3 separate regions of the Homo sapiens genome follow, and all the other regions are linked to region 1. The links are contacts of gene promoters, found by promoter capture Hi-C in blood cells and fetal thymus (Javierre and others, 2016). All regions are on one chromosome and are shown on one strand. Each heading gives the region's core, a stretch centred on a gene start or on the middle of the fragment in contact. The rest is flanking DNA. Distances are from core to core; before and after follow the strand shown.

Region 1 (3,232 bases), core at 545-3,044:
TGGGGAGCAGGAAGTATTGAGAGAGAGGAAAAAAAAAAAACCGTACCATTACAAGTCAAGGTCAGTGAGGAAGGATTAAGGACTTCTACCCAAGCTTCCTGCTAAAGACTAACTATGCTTCAAGTTTAAGCCATCTACCTTTTGAACTAGATTCCATTTACATTATTCTACAGAGGAGGAAATGAAAAGTACTGATATGCTGGAATACCCGAAGAGGGTCACTATGACAAAGTGACTAGCTTCTCTTCCAGTTAGATCTCTTCTGAAAGCTTTGGAAGAAAAACAGTATTCACAGACAAATCATTTTTTTATTCTCTAATTTCATATTTAAAAGCACTACAGACAAAATTTTAGTTACCTATCCAGACAAGCGGTCCTGGAATATGTTTTTATATTAAGTTATAGCCGGGTCTCAGTAAGAAAGCAAGAAAACAGCTTGTTGCTGACTTCTAAACCATGGTAGCATGGGGTGGTAGCATGGTACCATAGGGTGGGATAGGGACAACCTGGATAAATTAACTCCTCAGGTAATTATTATTTAAGACAAATGTTGGATTAATTCAAACTCCTCCCTCCCTTTACAACAGAAAAAAAAAATCATGTAAGATCCACTCTCCCTCCTCCTGGCCATTTTCTAACAAAAAATGCTAACAAGCAGATAGATGTCCAGTTAAAAAAAAAAAAAAAAAGCAAACTGATTTATCAACACTAGAAGTGGTTCTCTTTTTTTTCAGTAATTCTGATTGCAAACTATCAAACTACGAATTTAGCTTCCTAAAAGGCTTTTTACATTACACCCTCCAAAAAACCTCCTACCCTGACTTAAGTTTTTCTAAATCAAATGTCTTATACTGAGCTGTACTCGCAACGCTTGCTGGACAAGAAGTTAAAGAAATTGACAACTATTACATTAAAATTGCAAAATGCTGATACCGAACAACTTTCGATTCAAATCCACTGCGATTCCAAGCGTTCGTGGAAGACAACTTCCTTTTTCTACCCTGCGGGTCCCCCCGGCCCTTCCGTGAGCCCAGGTCCCCGCCCGGGCCTGCAGTGACATCCCAGGACCCATCTTCTGACGTCACAGACACACGGACCCACAGCCCTATGACTTCATCGTGGACTGAGGACGAACCGCAGTCGACTTGCGCCAGCCCAGAGGCTGGGGAGGCGTCCGAGCCTCCGTCCCGCCTCGTCGTTGAAGAAGGTTAAGGACAAGCGCCAGCTCACCTGCGCTGGGGCAGGGAAGGGCAGAGTGGCCGAGCCCGGGAGGGCGCGACAGGGGCGAGGCGACCCCAGTCCAGAGGCTGACTTCCTCACCGCCCTGGGTCCCGTAAGTGGGAGCGCCGGTCCGGTGCAAGCTCACGGCCTATCCGTGAATCTCCTCGGCTTCAGCGGGGACCCAGGACCCCGCTCCCTACCCGCCCGACCCTCCGTGGCCCGCGGGGACGCTCAGCGCCCGGGCCGTGCGCGCGGAAAGAGCCGCACCGGAGGAGGCGCAGGCGGCCGGGTCCCTACCCCGGACCCGCGGGCGGCGCCCCCGCCCCCACCCCCACCCGCCCCGCGCCCCGGGAGCGCAGGCAGGCGGCGGTAGGGGGCGGGGAGCGGCCACGGTGGCCGCCGCCGGACCCCAGTCGCGCGGCCCTCGCGCCACGCCCCACCTCGGCCCGGACCCACCTGCGCTCCTGCCCCGGCCGCGGCCTGGCCCGGGGCTGCACCAGCCCGACGCAGTGGTGGCGGCAGCAGCGGTGGCGGGAGGCCTGGCTCACTCCCCACCGCTGAGTCGGACCGAGCACCCAGCGCGGCGCGGCGGCGCCCAACGCTCGCCCCGAAACCCATTTGTTTGGCTAAAACGGAGTGACGTCACGCGCCGGCCCAATCGACGGTTGGCCGGGGGAGGGGCCACGGATCCAGAGTTTCACGGCGCCCCCTGCCGGACACTGGGGGCGGGAAGGGGGAAGTGAAAAGGGAGACCTGGATGACGCGTCTGCGGCCCCCAAGTGGTAGAGAATGAAAGTTTGAGCACGACTGTAGGGAAAGGAATCAAACCTCCCAGGCCAGCCAAGAAGGGTAGTGACGCCAGGGTTCAATCAGCAGACATGTCAAGTTTATGAATATTCGTGGGTGGACCTGAAGCTGTAAATGGTCTCAGATACTATTAGATAACCTAGTAGACCTGGATCCTCATACTGGTTCTGCTGCTAGCTTGGAAGGCTGGGGTTCAGAGTTTCAATTTGTAAAATGACAAAATTGGAAAGGTCCCTTCTGACTCTCTTTCCTATGAAAATCATGGCAGGGATACCGGTCAGAAAGTAGATAAACGTTGAGGCTGACACGAAACTGTTAAAGTCTGTAGAAGCTTAAGGGCTGGTTAATGATGGATATAAATTTTTAACACTTTATATTCAAATCAGAGGGCCAGTGAGGAACTTTTGATTCCCAATCTTTAAGCTTATTATTGTTTTCATTGTGAAAATAATATTAACCACATTGAAAAACATGAGGACAATGTATTTTCTTCTAGACCTTTTGCCCCATCACATATATTTTACTACACTGTAATAGTAGTTGTACGCGATTTTGCATCCTCTTTTCACTTTTATAAGCATTCCTCATATTTCCACATAAGCTTCATAACCAGTTTAACAGCTGCATAAAATTACATTAAGTGGACATAAAATTTACTGCAGTAATTCTCTATTTTTGGACATAACTTGTTTCCTTCATTCACTTTTTGCCATTATAAAGAAATCATAGAACATCTTCATGAATGTAGATTTTTAAAGATACCCAAAAGTGAAATTACTAGGTGAAAAAGACTATCAACACTTTCACAGTTACTAATACAAACTGCCAAATGATTTTTAAAAGGTTGTACCAAGTTACACTTAAACCAGCAACTTTGATTTTAGCCAGTCCTTAACAAAAATAATTTTGTCCAATTATAAAACTACTGTTGTAAAATATATGTGTAAAATCTTAAATATTAAAACGTAAAAACAAAATAAAAATATTTCCCATAATCTCATCACCAAGAAATAACCACTCAGTATCTCCATCTAGACCTTTATCTATATACATATTTTTAATAAAAATTGGAGAGGGGAAGTCCAGGCACGGTGGCTCACATCTCAAAAAGGAAAAAAAAAATTAAGGAAGGGTGTTATATGGTACACCGTGGCATCAAACTGTATGTCTGATTTAATATGTGAGCAATATTAGCTCAATATAT
Region 2 (3,232 bases), core at 369-2,868, 360 kb before region 1:
AGTCTTCCCCCTCGCTCGGCATTTCTCCTTCCTGCTGCTTCGTGAAGAAGATGCTTTGCTGCTTCTTCACCTTCTGCCATGATTGTAAGTTTCCTGAGGCCTCCCCAGCCATGTTGAACCGTGAGTCAATTAAACCTCTTTCCTTAAAAATTTACCCAGTCTCGGGCAGTTCTTCATACCAGTATGAAAACGAACTAATACGCCTATATTATTCATGAAATGACAAATAAAGGTGAGAATATATCACCTTCAACTGAGTAGCTGCTTGCTCAGCATTCTTCTTTTGGACTTCCTCTTGCTGTAGCTTTCCTGTTTTCTCAGTCAGCTCATTCACCAACCTAGCATAATCCTGGCGTAGTTTATTTAGTTCTGCAGACTGCCTGAAAACAGTAACTGGATTAGGAGCCTTCCGTTATTACAAATATATATAAGAAATAAACAAAACATACTTTGTTAGTTTTGCTGAGCTGAGCTAGTAGTTCCATTTACAGCCCAACTGAAACAGAACACAAGTGACTACTAACAATAAAGTTTAGTTGTATAATTCCTATATAATTCTAATGAGTTATTCAAATTCTAAAATCACTGTAAAATATCAAGAAAAATGGATGACCATAAATAGTGTCACCTTCAAACTGGTCTTCTGAAAACGTATTAAAAATCAGCCAGTCAGGGTACTGTGTACCGGTATTACTAGTCTCTCTAAGGTACTATTTCTCAAAGTATGGCCTCAGAGCCAATCACTATCACAAGGAAAGTGTCTTTTTTTTTTGAGACGGAGTGTGACTCTGTCACCCAGGCTGGAGTACAGTGGCACAATCTGGGCTCACTGCAACCTCTACCTCCCAGGTTCAAGCGATTCTCCTGTCTCCCGAGTAGCTGAGATTACAGGTGTGTGCCACCAAGCCCAGCTAATTTTTGTATTTTTAGTAGAGACAGGGGTTTCACCACGTTGGCCAGGCTGGTCTCGAACTCCTGACCTCAGGTGATCCGCCTGCCTCGGCCTCCCAAAGTGCCAGGATTACAGGCATGAACCACCACACCCGGCCCGAAAGTGTCTTAATATGTAGACTCCTGGGCTCTACCTCAGAGTCAGTGAATCATAATCTTTTAAGGGGAGGACTCAAGAATACACCTTTTAATTAGAATGCCAGGTGTTCTTCAGAACACTGAAGTTTGGGAGCTACTGTGAAAGGGGACAGATGGTTTAAAACTTATAAACTCATAAGCTTGTAGACCATTCCATTGGTGGTACTAGTATTTATTACATAGTTTATATACAATATACACATACATGTTTATATAAATATGTAATATATGATATATATTAATGTATTTGTATAAGTATATAATAGTATGACATTAATATAACATAGTTTACATATGTATAACTGAAGAAGTTCTTCACAAAGCAAAAGAGAATTGTTTTTAAAAGTAACTCATTTTAGAAACAAATGTAAAAACACAAAAGTCTAACCAATTACTATCAAACGCTATTAATATTTTGATGATTCAAGAAAATACTCTGCCATTCAATTAAAAAATAAGGTATTTGGAAACATACTTGCTTTCCAGTTGATTTGTAGTGTTGCTGACTGCATCTCTCAGTATACCATTTTCCTGCTTCAAGTGAGCTATCTCTGCCTCCATCTGCTCACGAACTTGCTGAAACTAAAATTATTTTACACACATAAAACTTAGAAAACAAAGACTGTCAAAGCTAACTTTTAAAATAAACTTTATTAAAATGAGAATATAAAAAACATCAATAGAATGAAGTTTGAATCATTCTTCTCAAATAAATATAAACAAATTTAAAAGAATTATATTTTGTTAGTGATGAATGCAAATCAAATACAAACTGTCACCACATTCAAGAATACAAGTAGATGCTAGCTGCTATCATATTTGAAATACAAGATAAACATGCTTAGAGATGATGTTTCAGAACTAAATATGATTTAGGATTTCTTTCCTACCGAATAGATTCATACAAAATTAAGCTTGTCCTGATCTTATGTCAATTATACATTAGCAATATTCTTAAAGTCTTTAGTAAGCCAAAGTTTAAAAACTGAAAATATGTTTGGTACACTTTATATTAAGTTACAAATTGGGCCATAATCATATAGATAACACAAAAACCTGCTTGCTAAAATATTCTGACCTCTTAATTTTTTTTCCAAGTTTTTACATTATAAAATACATATAACATAAAACGTACCATTCTAACCATTTTCAAGTATACAGTTCACTGGTATTAAATATATCCATAATGCTGTGTAATCATGACCACCATTCATCTCTCCATAACTCTCTTCATTGTGTAAAACACCTTCTACACCTTTTAACGAATAACTCCCATTCCTCTCCCTGCAGCCCCTGGCGACCACCACTCTAACTTTCTTCTTCTAATTTTTAAATTTTGGATTAAAGAATCTAAAGATAAAGGCACACTGACTCTTATATTCTCATAAGAACATGTTTTTGTATGAAATAATCTTATTAATAATTCTTTCAAAAGAAACTGTTGCTTATTAAGGGAAATTAAGGTATACATTTCTATTTTTCACAGAAGTTATCATATGGAATCTATATCCTGACCTCTGTAAGTAATCAAGTAAAACAGGATGAATCACTTAAATACCTTTCACCTTCAACAAAAGATGCTGCTACAAGTATCTGCCTAATTTTCAAATTAACAGGAATTAGGAATTAAGAAGAAAAGATCACTTGAGGCTAGGAAAATCAGTTCTTCACTAACTCAAATTGCTGGGGGATGAGAAGATGAAGGAATGAGTTAAACAAATGCTAAAAGCAGTGGATAGGGTAAGAACATGAAAACAGCATCATTCACTTCTTTTTTGCTATTAGTGGCATTTCAGAGGAAAACACTGGGACTCTGAAAGCAGCAAAGAATATTTTAAAATTTTTAGCAGACTAGCGATATTATCAAAGCAATATTTTACCAAAAAAAAATCTGGTACCAAATACAAGACGGAATGAAAATGACAAACCTATTAATATCAGCCATAATTATCCCAGTATGTAATAATAAACTAAAGACATGTCTAAGAATTGAATGCAAGAGTAACTAGAAATAAAGAGGTTTGGAGTTTTTTGTTTTTTGAGACAGGGTCTCACCCTGTCACCCAGGCTGCAGTGCAATAGTGTGATCATGGCTCACTGCAACCTCATCCTTCCAGGCTCAAGCCTCCCACCTCAGCCTCCT
Region 3 (3,232 bases), core at 531-3,030, 310 kb before region 1:
CCCTTATTCTTAGAGTTTCACTTTATATGGCATACCAAATACCACTCAGTTAGCCATGCTAATAAAGGATGGCAAGTAAAGCAAAAGACTCAATGAGTCCCAATCATTTTCAAGCATCAGACCATCCATTCATTCAAATTGAGCACTAGCTAGGTGTCAGACATATAGTTCACAGCGATGAACAAGACAGTCCCTGCCTCACATTATTTATATTCTTGTAGGTGAGGCAGATACCAAGAAAGAAATAAGCGTATTATAACATCAGGTTGTGACTGATAATGCAATGAATAAAAATAAGGCTGTGACAAAGAATAGGGAGGGTATGCATTTTTAGGTAGGGTCAGAGTTGGCGTTTTCGAGGTAACCATTAAGAAATGTCTATAAGATCACACAAGAGTAACTTATAATGAACATATGCAGGAAATGAAACAGAAAAGTTTCTTGGAAACAAAAGGACGACATTCTATCTACTGCTTTCCATATAACTAAAACATTTTATAGCATGTGGTTTAAGTAGCTTTTACTGTTTTCTCCACTTGAAAAACTTCAAGTCTTTAAATTTAAATCACTAGTTTTAAGAATTAATCTTCTAATTCCTATGGGGGGGAGGGGGATCCTTATAACCTTAATTTAGCTTTGTAATGCCTAACATTAGACAGCTGCACATGGACAGCGTTTTGTTTTCTTCAGAAAGCATTCTTATAAAACAGCTCAACGGGTAAGAATGGGCTCTAAGTCAGAATGCCTCAGTTAAAATTCAGGCTCCTCCTAAAGATATTTGTGTCTTTGAACAAATTATTTGTCTCCCTAGTTTTCACCAAATAGTACCTACCTCATAAGGTTGTTGAGAAGATTAAATATGATATGATATGATAATGCACCTAAAGCATTTAGAGTTTGACAGCAAATATGTACTCCAATGTTAGCTATCACTTATGAGGCAACTACTGAGGTAAGATAATTCCTTAATGAGCCTTAGGCAGGTTAATATAGGTTAAGATCACACATGCAGTAAGTGGTACTGACTAGCAAAACTAAATTCAAGCCCAAGGTCTTCAGGCTCCCTAGTGCCCAAGCTGTTTCCACTACCCCACAGAACATTATGTAATTAAAGAACTGGACAATAAAGAACTTGCATAAAACCTTAGAGTTAATAAGGTCTAAGACCTGTAGGTCTCCTAACTAGTGACTTCCAGCTTATTATACCAGACCAGATTGTTTCCTTAACAACTCAATGACTCATGCATAAGAATAATAATTGTCCCACATTTTCCAGCGAAAATGCAGTGTAACATCATGTCTCCTGATAGACAATGTACACTTACTTGAATTCACATAAGTTCTGAAAACTAATTGTAGATGTTACTCAGAGTCAAAATAAAGAAATAAGGGTAAATAACATTCTCTTCTAGTAATTATAGGCTGCTATGATCCTACGGCCCCTATGGAACCTATTCAAAGTGGAAGCTGTCTTACAGGATCTCTCACTGGATTAACTGACATTCTCCTCCTTTGTAAAAATACATGGGCTGGTGTCTTCAGAAAGCTGTTTCTGGCTAGCAATTACTCTCCTACTCACTTATTTCTATATATCTATCAAACATGAAAATAGAGTCAAAAGGTGTTATTTCTATAAAAATGACATTAAATCCTTTGGAAGGCCTTGATGAATAACTGGAAAAATCTATAAAGATTTTGTACTTGGAGAGTTTCCCAGTGCCTATCTTTTCATTCCACTTTAAAGAAACCAATACTAGAAATCATAGATAATGCTTTTAGAGTACAATCTATGAAAGGAAAATCAGGATAACCTTTATTTTAAGAAAAGAAATCAGTAAAAATAAAAAGGCAAATAAAAGTAAAATCAAATATTTTAAGTGAAAACATTTAAGGTGCACATATATTTTGATTCCTTGCTTTAACCAACTTTTTGAATTAACTAACAAATGGTCCTAATCATGTGGAGTATGTAAGAGGGTCTCCACCACACTCTAACATCATTCCTTCCACCAAGCAGCTCCCAAAGGCTCCATGCCACTTTCTTCCACTCTCTGACCATCCCTGAAAGAGGAAAGGAGCAAACTGAAAACTACATGTATCCAATAATGAGTTATCCATCAAAGGAAGGAATGTGAGATTTTTTTTTTTTTTTTTTTTTTTTTGAGACACAGTCTCACTCTGTCACCCAGGCTGGAGTGCAGTCGCACCATCTCAGCTCACTGCAACCTCCACCTCCCTGGCTCAAGCAATCCTCCCACCTCAGCCTCCCAAGAAGCCGGGACCACAGGCACACGCTACCATGCCTGGCTATTTTTATATTCTTTTTAAAGATGGGGTTTTGCCACGTTGCCCAGGCTGGTCCCAAACTGCTGGGCTCAAGCAATCCACACACCTTGGCCTCCCAAAGTGCTGGCATTACAGATGTGGGTCATCACACCCAGCCAGGATTTAATTATTGTGTTCAACAAATTCTTATTGAGGACCTGCTATGTGCTAGACACTGCTCTGAACTCTTAAAGAGTCATCAATAAAACAGACAAAAAGCCTACCCTCATAGAAGCTATGTAATACTGTGTTTGAGGGTTATGTGGAAGAGACAATAAACACAACCAGGAAATTATATAGTATGACAGAAGGTGACAAATGCTATAAAGAAAACGGAGCAAGGTACAAGAATCAGACGTAGGGGAGTGCAGTTTTAAATAAAATAGGCACATCTTTTTAAGAAACTGACATTTAAAAAGCAAAGACTGGACGGAGACAACAAGCCATGCATGTATCTACAGGGTAACAGCCAGTGTAAAAAACAGCTCTGTTTCCTCCATGGCACTTGTCACCTTCTTGCCAGGAGAAGTAAACAGTATATAATTTCCTCATTGATTGTGTTTATTATCTCTTCCCCTTGCCCTCAAACATACACTATTACACAACTTCTATCAGGGCAGAGCTTTTCGTCTGTTTTGTTTATTGATGGAGCCTAAGCGTTTAGGGCAGTGTCTGATATGTAGCTGCCCTTAGGAAAACCATTGGAGCCAGAGAGAAGTAAGCAGAGGGATGATAGTAGCTAACCTTAGAGGTAAGGGGGAATGAGGAGAGTGGAAGTGTCCAGATTCTGCATGGCCTTAAGGACATAAGAACTTCAGCTTTCACTGTGCATAGAGAAAGTCACTGTAGCATTCTGAGAAGATAAGTAATATGATCCAGTTGTTGTGTTGGAAAGACTGCAGGGAGT

Evidence for each region. The method cuts DNA at HindIII sites, captures the fragments that hold promoters and counts their contacts. A CHiCAGO score of 5 or more calls a contact.
Region 2: a fragment that was not itself captured here is called in contact with the fragment with the promoter of FBXO34 in region 1 in 1 of 17 cell types (non-activated CD4 T cells); the score reaches 5.2 in non-activated CD4 T cells.
Region 3: a fragment that was not itself captured here is called in contact with the fragment with the promoter of FBXO34 in region 1 in 1 of 17 cell types (naive CD4 T cells); the score reaches 5.2 in naive CD4 T cells.

What each region holds. Positions count from the first base shown.
Region 1 is chr14:55,269,983-55,273,214 of GRCh38, reverse strand. FBXO34 (F-box protein 34) reads right to left here and starts at 1,794. Exons shown (of 2, transcript NM_017943.4): 1 at 1,678-1,794. It overlaps FBXO34-AS1 (FBXO34 antisense RNA 1), which reads left to right and starts at 1,137. Exons shown (of 2, transcript NR_184222.1): 1 at 1,137-1,333. RefSeq lists a silencer at 1,243-1,742. The HindIII fragment of the contact is 2,090 bases long and covers 272-2,361 here.
Region 2 is chr14:55,631,674-55,634,905 of GRCh38, reverse strand. It overlaps KTN1 (kinectin 1), which reads right to left. Exons shown (of 44, transcript NM_001079521.2): 8 at 1,565-1,671; 9 at 248-380. Among named protein-coding and RNA genes, the nearest start is that of KTN1, 53 kb to the right of the region's middle. The HindIII fragment of the contact is 774 bases long and covers 1,232-2,005 here.
Region 3 is chr14:55,584,062-55,587,293 of GRCh38, reverse strand. The region is part of intron 1 of KTN1 (kinectin 1); the gene reads right to left. Among named protein-coding and RNA genes, the nearest start is that of KTN1, 5.5 kb to the right of the region's middle. The HindIII fragment of the contact is 4,433 bases long and covers 1-3,232 here.